Linked DNA regions of Homo sapiens: regions 1 and 2 are each linked to region 3. Evidence: promoter capture Hi-C in 16 types of primary human blood cells and fetal thymus (Javierre and others, 2016). All regions are on one chromosome and are shown on one strand. Each heading gives the region's core, a stretch centred on a gene start or on the middle of the fragment in contact. The rest is flanking DNA. Distances are from core to core; before and after follow the strand shown.

The links. The method cuts DNA at HindIII sites, captures the fragments that hold promoters and counts their contacts. A CHiCAGO score of 5 or more calls a contact.
Region 1: a fragment that was not itself captured here is called in contact with the fragment with the promoter of THBS1 in region 3 in 2 of 17 cell types (activated CD4 T cells and total CD4 T cells); the score reaches 8.3 in activated CD4 T cells.
Region 2: a contact is called between a fragment that was not itself captured here and the fragment with the promoter of THBS1 in region 3, in 1 of 17 cell types (total CD8 T cells). The highest score is 6.1, in total CD8 T cells.

The regions. Positions count from the first base shown.
Region 1 is chr15:38,426,945-38,430,891 of GRCh38, reverse strand. No RefSeq gene overlaps it. Among named protein-coding and RNA genes, the nearest start is that of FAM98B, 25 kb to the left of the region's middle. The HindIII fragment of the contact is 672 bases long and covers 1,588-2,259 here.
Region 2 is chr15:38,478,419-38,482,455 of GRCh38, reverse strand. It overlaps FAM98B (family with sequence similarity 98 member B), which reads right to left. Exons shown (of 8, transcript NM_173611.4): 7 at 997-1,164. Among named protein-coding and RNA genes, the nearest start is that of FAM98B, 26 kb to the right of the region's middle. The HindIII fragment of the contact is 602 bases long and covers 1,893-2,494 here.
Region 3 is chr15:39,579,123-39,583,158 of GRCh38, reverse strand. It overlaps THBS1 (thrombospondin 1), which reads right to left and starts at 2,080. Exons shown (of 22, transcript NM_003246.4): 1 at 1,931-2,080; 2 at 1,235-1,330; 3 at 407-966. The coding sequence starts at 1,301. LOC124903470 reads right to left here and starts at 3,352. Exons shown (of 1, transcript XM_047433405.1): 1 at 2,165-3,352. The coding sequence starts at 2,841. The coding sequence ends at 2,407. RefSeq lists silencers at 2,540-2,589, 2,600-2,829 and an enhancer at 2,252-2,989. The HindIII fragment of the contact is 3,699 bases long and covers 1-3,351 here.

The DNA of each region.
Region 1 (3,947 bases), core at 674-3,173, 1.2 Mb after region 3:
AATTAAGTTGAATTGAGTTTACTCCAAATGTAAAATTACTGAAAATACGTATGGTATGTCTTGAGAGCAAGAAATGAGTTCCAGAAAGAATCCCTGAATGTATACCACTACATAAATACATGATAGATATCACTGGATACATATAAAGACAGAGAGAGAGAAAGGGAAAAGGAAAGAGAGAAAGAGACAGGGGGAGGAATCATTATTTGTGACAGTTTTAAAACATGTTCATAAATTCTTTGGCACTTCCTCCATGGACAGGTAGGGCCCATGTACCTTCCCCTCAAATGTGGGAAGGCATGTGACTGGTAGCCCACTAGAGCACAGTGGAAGTGATGCTGTACTGCAGGCTAAGTATCAAAGGCAACACTCTTCCCAAGTGGTCCTTTTGAGACACTGGCCTTTGGTGCTCTGATCTGCCATGTAAGAAAATTCTGAGGCCATGATACTAGCGGGAAGTACAATCCCCCTGAATGGGTCCTAGGTAGGTGTTCTGGCCTACAGCTACAACTGATGTCCCAGCACACAGCAAGCATCGACTGCCAGACATGTGAAAGACAAAACCTCCAGCTGACATTTGCTCCCAGCCATCATCACTCCCAGTGTTTGTGTCATTGTCAGCTGAGGTCCCAGATATACCAAAAGGAGATAAGCCATCCCCACTGTATCCTTTCTGAATTCTTGACCCAAAGAATCCACGAGGTTGGTGAAATAGTTATTTGAAGTTGGCAAATAGGTTTGTTAAGCAGCACAGATAACATGAACTTAATGGTATAGAAATAAGCTTCTAAAGAGAAGAAATTCAAACAGATAAGTTTACATTGGGCTACAAGCAGTCACTATCTTGATCTGTCATATTTCCATTTCCATCTTATCTTTAAATTTTTTTTTTGAGATAAGGTCTTGCTCTACCACCCAGGCTGTGTGTGTGTGCATACATATTCAATGGCGGAGAGCAGGGTGCATTTCACAGTACCTACCATGCCATGCTTTAATGTAGAAGAATTACCATTCAAACCCACATCATGGCTCACTGCAGCCTCAACGTCCCAGGCTCATGTGATCCTCCCACCTCAGCCTCCTGATTAGTTGGGAGTACAGGCACACACACCACATCTGGCTAATTTTTGTATGTTTTTGTAGAAATGAGGTCTCACCATGTTGCTCAGGCTGGTCTTGAACTCATGGGCCCGAGTGATCTTCCTGCCTCAGCCTCCCAAAGTGTTGGGATTACAGACATGATCCACTGTGCCCAGCCTCCATTTTACCTTTAATACCTATTTTTTCCACATTCCTATTTATATTAGTTTTGTGTTGAAAATTAATTATGTAGAGTCAGAACTCTTTCAGGACTAATGCAATGTTTGTTTTTGTGTGATGCTAGATATTAAAAGGAGGATGTCCCTGGTGACACAATGTCAAAATTATTCTGATCCATTTGGAACATTTCCAGTGAAAATGAACAGGCGCTGCTTAAGGAAGTCAAGGACACAGGAAAAAAATATGATCAGAAAACATCCTCTAGGGACTAATTTAGGGTAAAAGCAATATATAGCAGCTCATTTCTCCTCTTTCCCTGTTAAAGCTTAATTAGCCAAAGACCACTGGGCACAATGTATAATCTGACAAAATCAGATGTATTGATTTTCAGTGAGGGAGCACATGGCAGAAGCACTGTGGCAGACCACTCAACAAGAAGGAGCAGGAAACGTCTTCTGTACAGTGTGTGTTTCACTGAAGGATTTTGAGCAGGATCCAGGAACTGAACATCGGTTCTGGATTGGAGGCTGCTTCTGAAGTAGGATTAGGAAAGTGGGGATTAACTAGGGATTAGGATTGCCACGGGGTGTCCCCTGTAATACATGGATGTAGCAGAATAGTTCCAGGGACATCATCAATAAGAAAGCAGTGGTCACTCATAGAGCAGGTCTCTATGGTATTGGAAAGAGATGCTCTCTGTTCTCTGGGATCTCCCATTGTAAGGACTTGAACTTGGAGTTATTCCATCATCGCGTGGAAAGAATTTGCCTGAGAATTAAATCAACATGGATTAAAGCAGAGCTGGGGCACACTGGAACCCCTCAATCTAGCTCTGCCTAAAAAATCCATCTCTTGAATTGCCCATCACAGAGGCTAATACGCTCCTGTTTTTTAAAGCTACTTTGTTCAAGCTACTTTTAGGAGTTACTCTTGACTAATACAAGCCTGATAACGTTTTCTGAGGTTAAGATGCTCTCACCTGAACTCCAAAGATAAGCTTGTGTGTGTGTGTGTGTGTGTGTGTGTGTGTTTGTATGTGTGTGTGTGTGTGTGTGTGCATACATATTCAATGGGGGAGAGCAGGGTGCATTTCACAGTACCTACTATGCCATGCTTTGATGTAGAAGAATTACCATTCAAACCCCCATACTCTTGACATTTATATGAGGTTATATTTCTAAGTAACTAATAAATAACATCTAATATTCAATAAATTGACTTCTGTTTGTTGAATGCATATTTTGTACAAGGTGCTGAACTATATACCCTGAGGGGAAAATAAATAATAATCCAATATCATCCTGTTTTCAAAGCTATAGTTACTAGTTATAGTCAAGGCCAAAAGTAACATAGGCAGTCAGTCTTAATAGCACCTCAGAGGCAGGAGAGGCCATTACAGACCAGCAGCAGTGGAGAAAACTCTTCCACCAAGGCACAGGAAGGGAGTGGGGCTTTGACTGAAGAGTAAAATTTCAACCTGGGTGAGAAAGAAGACATTCCAGAAAGGGGTTAAGGTAAGGAAGTTGAAAACAATTATGGAAAGAGTAACCAGGACAGCTCGGGCCAGGAGAAGACCTCCAAAAGGGAGAGGAATGGAATATAAGTTTGGAAATGTAGATTGAGACCAGTCTTGAAACACCAGACCTCCAGATTTCTATTTTATCTGGTAGGAACTAAAGTGCCAATGCAGATTTCTGATTAGAGGAATATCAAGACAAAAAGAGGTTTTTAGTCAGGCATGGTGGCTTGTGGTTGTAATTCCAGCTACTCAGGTACTCAGGAGGCTGAGGTGGGAGGATTGCTTGAGGCCAGAAGTTTGTGACCAGCCTGGGTTATATAGCTAGAGCCAGTCTCAAAAGAGATGAAGAGAGAGAGAGACGAGAGAGAGAGATTTTCAGGAAAATATATTTGGCAATTCAATGTTTCTGACTGGAGAAGAGAATGGAGAATGCTGGATCCTGCTGCTATTCTTTACACAAAAGGTGACAGAAGTGTGAGTGAGCCTCTCAGCCAAAGGCAGGATGCAGCTAACCTCACCCCTACCTCTACATCCCATACCACCACCTGCTGGAGTAATTCAGGTTGATCCTCTTGTTGGCCTCACAGTTTACAGATCAGGCTAACATTTCTTTGAGCAAAGATTTCTCATTCAACAATCATTTTTTGAGAACTGCTGCTGCAAGGAATCATTCCAGTTGTATTTTGGGTCCTAGCTTTTCCATGTTATTTAATTAAGAATGCAAAAACACAGGGGTTTGACTGACTTCACTCACAGCTGGCCCAGAAGCAGGGATGTCAGAACCACCTGGAGGGCTTTCTAGACAGGCACTTCCAGGCTCCATCCTCAGAGATTCTGATCCAGTGGAGGGGATGGGGTCTAGGAATCTGTATATTTTAAAGTTCTTTAGATGACTAAATAAAAAGTAAAGTTTGGAAAAAACTCTTGTACTAAATATTTGCATATATTTTCAGTCTGAGCAATAGCACATAGATCTGAGAACTTCCCCCTTTGAATTGTACATTTAAAATAATAATTTTAAGGCATGATGGTGTGTGCCTATAATCTCAGCTACTTGAGAGGCTGAGATGGGAGGATTTCTTGAGCCCAGGAGTTCAAGGCTGTAGTAACCCATGATTGCACCACGCACTCCAGCCTGAGTGACAGAGTAAGAACTTGTCTCTGAAAA
Region 2 (4,037 bases), core at 944-3,443, 1.1 Mb after region 3:
GCCAGAACTGATCATAAGACTACCCTCAAATAATGAGACCATAAATTATAAACTCAGAAGAGATGGCCAATGTTACTTACAGAAATAGAACTCTTGATCCAGCAAGACTAAATTATCACCCAATGCAAGATGTTAGGTAATATATTTAAAGAGAGAACACTTTCAGAACATAGGATTGAGCCACAGTGGAAGCACAGAGGCAAACACTGGTGATGCCTAACTTAGCAATAGTTAGCAAAATGACTTTAAAAACAACCATCCCTCTGAAAAGGTATTTTATCTCAAGTTACACTGAGTGAGAAGCGATGCTTTAAAATTATCCAAATCCCTTATTTCTGATTTTTTGCTCTTTTGTAATAAAGTTTGCCATGGAGTGCTCTACCTAAATGAAGAGGACATGCCAGTTAAGCTGACATAAACATACTAAATTACTTTATTGTTATTGCTGTTGTAAAGTGAAAAATTCAGACTCCTTGAGCTTGTTTAAATAGACTACTGTCAGAGAAATGGATGTATACTCCAAATCAGGAAACAGAAGCTCAAAGAAGTTCAGTAGCTTGCTCAGGGTCATTTCTGTAAGTAAATGACAGAGCCAGGATGGGAACCCAGATTGGTCTGACTCTAAAGCACAAACTCTTCTTCCCTTTACACCAAGGATATAACGAATCTGTCAGTACTTGAAACAATTCCGAAAGATTCTTACTGACAAAAAATGATTACTTTTTAGAAAGATGGAACATAATTCTTGCTAAAGCTTTGACAAAAACAATTCATAATTCCTCTAATTCAGAAAATACTTTGATTTATGAATACACAAATTCAAGTGAACATACACACATACACAAAAATAACATAACTAAGCCTAGACTGAACCCCCCTGCCACTCTTTTTTCTAAACATTTACCAGGACATGAAAGAAAAATAGACTAAAATCTGTAAAAACATTAAGTAAGATATCATCAATTCATTTTCCACTGTACTGAAAGAAACACCAACCTTATTAATGGCACATGCGGTCTTCTCCCGGCTGGTGCCACTACTTGTCCTAATGATCTTGGATAGATCTTCACGAGCAGCAAGTAGATGTGCCATTGTAATCGTTGTCTTGGGTGACAAAGCATAACGCTTAGGCTGATAAATTCTTGCTATATCATCTGTTTTTACCTAAATGACAAGAGTTAAGGAAAAAAGGAACAAAAGTACATTTTAATGAAAGAGCAAAAACAATCATAATCTTTAGAAATAAAGAAAAGGAGATAATGCATAAGCAAGGAGTTAGAAAAGAGCAAAAACACCCAAATATCTGAGAATTTATGAATAATTTAGAACAAATAAAATAGACCAACAGGTGTTAAAAATATGTAACTACCAGCAACAACTCGCTAAAAAATAATAACAAAAAAATTTCTATACATATTAACAAAAAATACCTAAAAAATAGTTTTACCAAAACCACATACAGGACATTTAAAAGGGAAACATCAGTAAATCTTGCAAAAACAAAAGGAAAACTTGTATAAATGGTAAGAAATACCAAGTTTCTGTATGGGAACATTAAGTATTATTGTCAGTTTTCCCCCAAATTAACTTATAATCCTATATAAATAGTTTTTGAGAGAATGAAAAAAAAATCTAAAGTTAAATCCAGAAACTCAATATGTAAGAATAACTAAAAGCATTTTGAAATATAATCCTACCAAATACTAATATGCTATAATACAAAATTATCATCATCTTATCAGTTAACATTTAATGAGAACTTATTAAATGTGCCAGGATGCTGTTCACTTAGTAAGGCATTATTTCTTTAATCCTCAAAATATCCTTTTAGAGTGGTTGGTTTTTATTATCCCCTTTTGCAGATGGAAAAAAAAAATGAGGCATAGAAAGCTTAAGTTAGTTTCCCCAAAATATAGAGAGAATCCTAGCTCTGCCCACTTAGCAACAAAGGTCTACCTGACCCCCAAGCACAGGTCTAGTATAGATAACAGTTTGCTATCCTACCTCCATCTAATTAACTAGAACTTGGGAGAAAAAAACATAGATTGATGAAATAGTATATTGAGACTCAGAGCCTCATAAATCTATGAATGCAATAAATGATAAAGGAGACATCACAGATCAACGAGAAAAGGAAAGGATTATCTTTTAAATGGTGCTGGAATGACCTGGTGGCTATCTGTAATAATAACAATAATACAGCACACCATATAACAAAGGGAATTCCAAAGAGAACAAAAAGTTAACTGTTTGAGGTTTAATTTTCAATTTAAAAACAACTACATTATAAAAATTAAAATTTCTGTACTTTAAAAGATATAAAACAACATCTAATGACAACTGGGGAAAATATTTTCAACAAATAATTCAACCAGCAAACTTCCTTTCTATATAAAAACCTCAAACACAAAAAGAAAACAGAATTTTACAGGAAAAAAAAATGACAAGACATAAATAGAAGTTAAAAAGAGGAAATTCAAATGACTAATAAGCTTATGAAAACAGTTCAACTTTGTCAATAATAAGAACAGACAAAACAAGTTAGTCTTTTTAACATCAAGTTAGCAATAAAGAGGCTAAAGTGACACAACATTTCATTTACCTTACTGGAAGGAGTTTAAATTCATATAAACTTAAGTGGAAAACAATTTGGCCATGGGAAGCGAGAGCATTAAGAGACAAAACCTTTGACACAGTAAATTTCCTTTAAGGAATCCACCATAAAATTTTACTCTGAAATTTATATATAAAAATTAAACACAGAAACATGCCTGGTATTGTTAATATAGAAAAAAATGTATAAAATAAGAGAAGTAAACTATTGAATCACTAAATGATAAAATATAATGCAGCCATAAGAAGGATACTGAAAGAAATTTAGTACTGTTACATGCTATGACATGAATAAACCTTGGAAACATTATGCTAAATCAAAGCCAGATGCAGAAGCCACATATTGTATGATTCCATTTATATGAAATGTCCAGATAGGCAAATCCATGGAAATGTAAAGTATATTATAGTAATGGTTGCCAGGGCATGGAGGTAGGGAATATTGGGAATGACTGCTGAGAGGTAGCTATGTCATTTTGGGATGATGGAAGTGTTATGGAATTACATATAGGGTTACACAACACAGTGAACAGACTAAAAACCACTGAATTGTACACTTTAAAATGGTATATTTTGGCCAGGCACAGTGGCTCATTCCTGTAATCTCAGCACTTTGGGAGGCTGAAGTGGGAGCATTACTTGAGGCCAGGAGTTTGAGACCAGCCTGGGCAACATGGCAAAACCCTGTCTCTATAAAAAATAAAACAAAATTTTTAATTAGCCAGGTGTGGTGGCACACGTCTGTAGTCCCAGCTGCCTGAGCGAAGGCCACAGTGGGAGGATCACTTGACCCTCCAGTGAGTTGCAGTGAGCTATGATGATGGCACTGCACTCCAGCCTGGGCAACAACAAGACTACAACTCAAAAATAAAAATAAAATGGTAAATTTTATGTTAATTATATCTCAAAAAAATTAAGAGTTAATTTTAAAAAGGGTACTAAAATAGAGTTTTTAGAGATATTGGAAAATGGTTACAATATATTTAGTGAAAAAGCAAGCTATAAAATTACATTCACAATATTATCTCAATACTAGTAAAACAGTGAAGAAAAGAAACTACATAACCTTTCTAATAAATGACTATAATCTGTTTGAAGGGCAACTCTGGAGTATGCATCAACAGCCTTAAAATCATTTCCCTTAATCAAATAGTTCACTTTTAGGAATACATCATGGACATGAACAAAAATTTAGCTGTCAAGGATTTTATTACAGGGTCAAAGAGGCAAAATTAGAGAAAACCTCAGTGTCTATGAATACAGTATATATATGCATATAATAAAATACTGTGCAAAGATTTAAACTGCTGTAGAACAAAGTTGATGACAGTCACTCAACAATATCAGACGTATTTTTCTATCACGAAAATAGGGAGAAAATGATAAAGATATAATAAATTCAACAAGAAAACTTAGTATACAAA
Region 3 (4,036 bases), core at 831-3,330:
ATTCTGCCCATAGAAAGTATCCATTTCAAACAAGATTAAAATTGGGGGAATGCATTTGAAATAAGCTCTTTTCTTAAGAGCCTAAGGAGTATCTAAGGCTTGAACAGGCTGACTGCTAAAGGAAAACCATTTCTTGTTTCCTTGAGTAGTTTTCAAAGTGTGCTTCCCAGACCACCGGCATCAGCATCACCTGGTACTTGTTAGAGTTGCAGTTTTACAGAATCCCAGACTCTGGGGCTGGGGTGCAGCAGGGTGAGCTTTCACAAGCCCTCCAGGTGATGCTCATGCTGCCTAAAATCTGAGAACTGCTGCGTTAGTTTACAGACAGGATTTCCTGTAGCCCTCCTGGCAGGTCACCTGTCTAGCAGATGATCCCACGGAGCAGGGCTCAGAGAAGAAGCCTCACCTGGAAATTGTCATTGACGCCCCCCTTTGCGATGCGGAGTCTGGCGATGCTGGCCAGGTCTCTGGTGAAGACGCTTTGGATGGGGACGTCCAACTCAGCATTCTCCATCTTTTCACAGTCGATGTACAGCTGGGCCCTGTCTTCCTGCACAAACAGGGTGATGCTCTTCCACTGGCCGGTTGCCAGGAGAGCTTCTTCCACAGACACCACGTGCTGCTTTCCTTGGACGGTCAGGCTGAGGTCCAGGGTGCCCGCCTTGCCATTGGACACCACGCTGAAGACCTGGCCAGAGTGGTCTTTCCGCTCCAGGGCCAGCAGCGTGCCCCGGGTCTTCTTCATCTGCCTCAGGGATGCCAGAAGGAGGAAACCCTTTTCTGCCCGCACAGCATCCACCAGGTCTTGGAACTTGTCATCAGGCACAGGGGGGATCAGGTTGGCATCCTCGATGCGGAAAGCTGGGCTGGAAGGGTCGGGGCCCTTCACCAGTCGGCGCCCAGACCCCTTGCGGGCGGCCCCGGTGAGTTCAAAGATGTCAAACACGCTGTTGTCTCCGCCAGACTCTGTTAGACAGGAGAGAACACAAAGTGAGCTTTCTAGGCTGGGACCAGCAGTAGGGGGCTGAGTCCTTAGGGGTGGAGACAAAGGGTTGGGGTGAAAACTCCTGGCAACCACTGAAAGAGGTGAATAAATACCAGGATCAGAGTGAAGCTGCGTCCTGATGTCCAGTCAGGCTCAAGAGGGAGAGGACAGCACGTGAGGGGGCACACCTGGGATAGCCAGCACCTCTTCCTTGTCCCTCCTTCCCCTAAAGGTGCCACACAAACTCACCTGGAATGCGGTTGGTGCCACACACATGCATCAGGAACAGGACGCCTAGTCCCCAGGCCAGCCCCATGGTGGAGCTGTTGGTGCCCAGCAGGGATCCTGTAGCAGGAAGCACAAGAGCCGAGGGTCAGAGATCAGCTAGGCAGGGAGGGACGGTGCGCAGAAACGGGGCTGGGCATGGGGACAGGGCCGGGACCATCCCTCTTTGACCCCGCGTTTGCTGAAATGAAGGACAACAGGATTACTTTCCAGAGAGCATGAGAGAGAGAGAGAGAGAGAGAGAGAGAGGTGGAGGAAAGAGATGCTGGTTTTAAAGTGTGGGGGGCGCAAGACCAACAATTTGGGGGCTTTTGGGAAGTCGAAGGTGAGCAAGATCAGGAACTGTAGTTTGGGGTTGCAGGGAGGGCAGGGGAAGTACAGACTCTTCCCTGGAGTGCTGATACAAAGGCTTAAGGAGGACTTCAGAGAGTAAGGAAATCTTGGGGTGTCCTGATGAGTTGGTTTGTGAACCTCAAGGCTGGAGAGGATGGCTCTGGAGCCTTGCCCTGAAGAGTCCTCCAGCGGCTGAGAGGAGCGGGCTGGGGTAGGCGAGCGGGGAGAGTGTAGGTTCCGGGGTCCACCAGAGGGACTGAAGCCTCAGCGCTCCAGGTGGATGTCCCGGGCAGCTTTGGTCCTCGGCGGCCGCCGGGGGCGACTTACCTGTGTGTACCGGAGCGCGGCGGCCGGGAGCGGTGGCGAGGGCGGCGAGGGCTGGAGGGGCGCGGGGAATGCCTGTGCGTCCGGAGTAGAGGTTGCTCCTGGAGAGCGACAGGAGCCCTGAACTCGCAGGCCAGCTCGGGCGCAGCGGCTGGCAAGGCGGAGGAGCCGCGCGCTTTTAAAGGGGCGCTCGCATTCCTGGGGATTCCTCCGGCCAATGGGCGGCGGCCGGGCAGGAAGCGGGAGGTGGGGGCCAGTCTGGGCTCCTCTCTCCGCCCCCCGCTGCCTGGCGCGCAACTTTCCAGCTAGAAAGTGAAGGGGGCGGGGGTCGGGGCTTGGGAGCACTAGAACTTCTCAGAAAAGTCGGTGCCCGCCCACGCAGCCTTGGCGCGCACGGGCTCGGCGCTCGTACTCTTGCGCCACGCGGGCTCGGGGTGATCAGCAAGCATCCCGAAAAGGGACGGGGCTGGGGAGACCACCTAGGAGGGCCCGCGGGGTGGCGCAGGGGCTTTCGGGCGAGCTGATCTCCCGGAATGCCTGGTTGATGGCGAGAGGTGGATACTAGAGACTGGGCCCGTTTTGTAAAAAGAAAAATGGGCCGACGGGGCGCAGGGGACACCAAGAGAGCCATTCGTTAAAGTACCTGCCCCTCGGGCCCTCGCTGACTCTCCTCCACCGTCCCCGTGGGGTGAGGACACGCGTCCCCCGAGCGCCTGTCCTGAGCTGGCCCCACGCCCGCCCCGGAGGGAGGTGAGCGCGGCGTCGGCGGGGCCGGCAGGTTGGTGCGCCGCGTTCGCCTTCGCTGCCTTCGGGCCCTTTCCTGCCGCGGCTGCCAGGGGGCCCACAGAGACGCCTCTCCCGCTGCCGCGGCGCTCCCTCGGCCGGCCGCTTGGGGGCGGTGTGCGTATTCTCATCAAGGGGCCCGGGGAGGACAGCTGCTTTCTACTCGAATTTTAAGGAAACTTACTCGTATCCAGTTTCCACAAGCCAAATTGAAATTGTGTCTTGAAAAACAGTTTTTGTGCCCACTCGTGCTTCTTAACGTGACTCCTGTTTGGAGAATTTGCAGAACCATCTGGCTCCAGAGTCTTCAGCTATTTACAGAGCAGACCCATAGAGTAATAAATTACTCTCTGCCTATTATTGTATTTCCCTTTTTCCTCCCTAAACGTTCTTTTCATTTTTCGGCTCCTGAACCCGAGGTGTGGGTTACATTTCTGTGGGTGCACACATTGCCATGAGTGCCGCTGCCTAGTGCTTCTGTCATTGAAGTCTGGTCTCCAAGCCACTGTCCCAAGCCAGCATGACTCTAGCTTCCTGGAATTCCATTCATCTCTTCGGGATGGGACGTCAGCCGCCTCGCTCCCTCTGCTGTGATCCAGCGCTATCGGGCTCGCTCCGAGGCCAGGGCATAGGTAGAAGCTTGACCAAATAAGGATCTCAGCACGGGCAGGGGGAAACCCCTGGGGTTCACCTCCCATCTTAGCACTTAAACCTGGCAGGACTCCCGACTGCTGCAAACAGCCAAGTGTTTACATTCATCAAACAGCAGTTTCGCTTTTCTTGCGTGGGAGTGTTGTATGACAAGATGGTGTGTGTGTGTGTGTGTGTGTGTGTGTATTACGGAAAGAGTGTTTTCTAGTTACTCAATATGTATATAAAATGCCTCTAAAAGATGACCGGTATGTTCCTAAGGCACATGTTTGTTGGATTTCAGATGTTGGGAGGCAGAAAGAAAAGTTTCTACTGGTTGATGAATAAAATCAGATTCTTGTCCCGCAAATCATAGGTAATGATTCATCCAAGCAGATCTGAAGATTCTGGAATCGGCACCCATCCATCTCCCTCCCCTTCCTTCTCCTTCTACAGCATTCATCTTGCTCTTCGAAAAGTAATTGGGTTTTTTTTTTCTTCTTTCCACTTGCTCCATGATACTGGACAGTCAGAAATAGTTCTTGGAGGGATGGGCCGCTCATGGCTCTGGGCTCCTCTGGCCCACTGGATCATTGTGTACAAATCAGATGGGGGCTTGAGGGCTGCAAGAGGCCCACAAAAGCAGAATGCATCTTGTATGAAAAGATTATCTCCCCTAGGCTTAGCTGTGCAGAC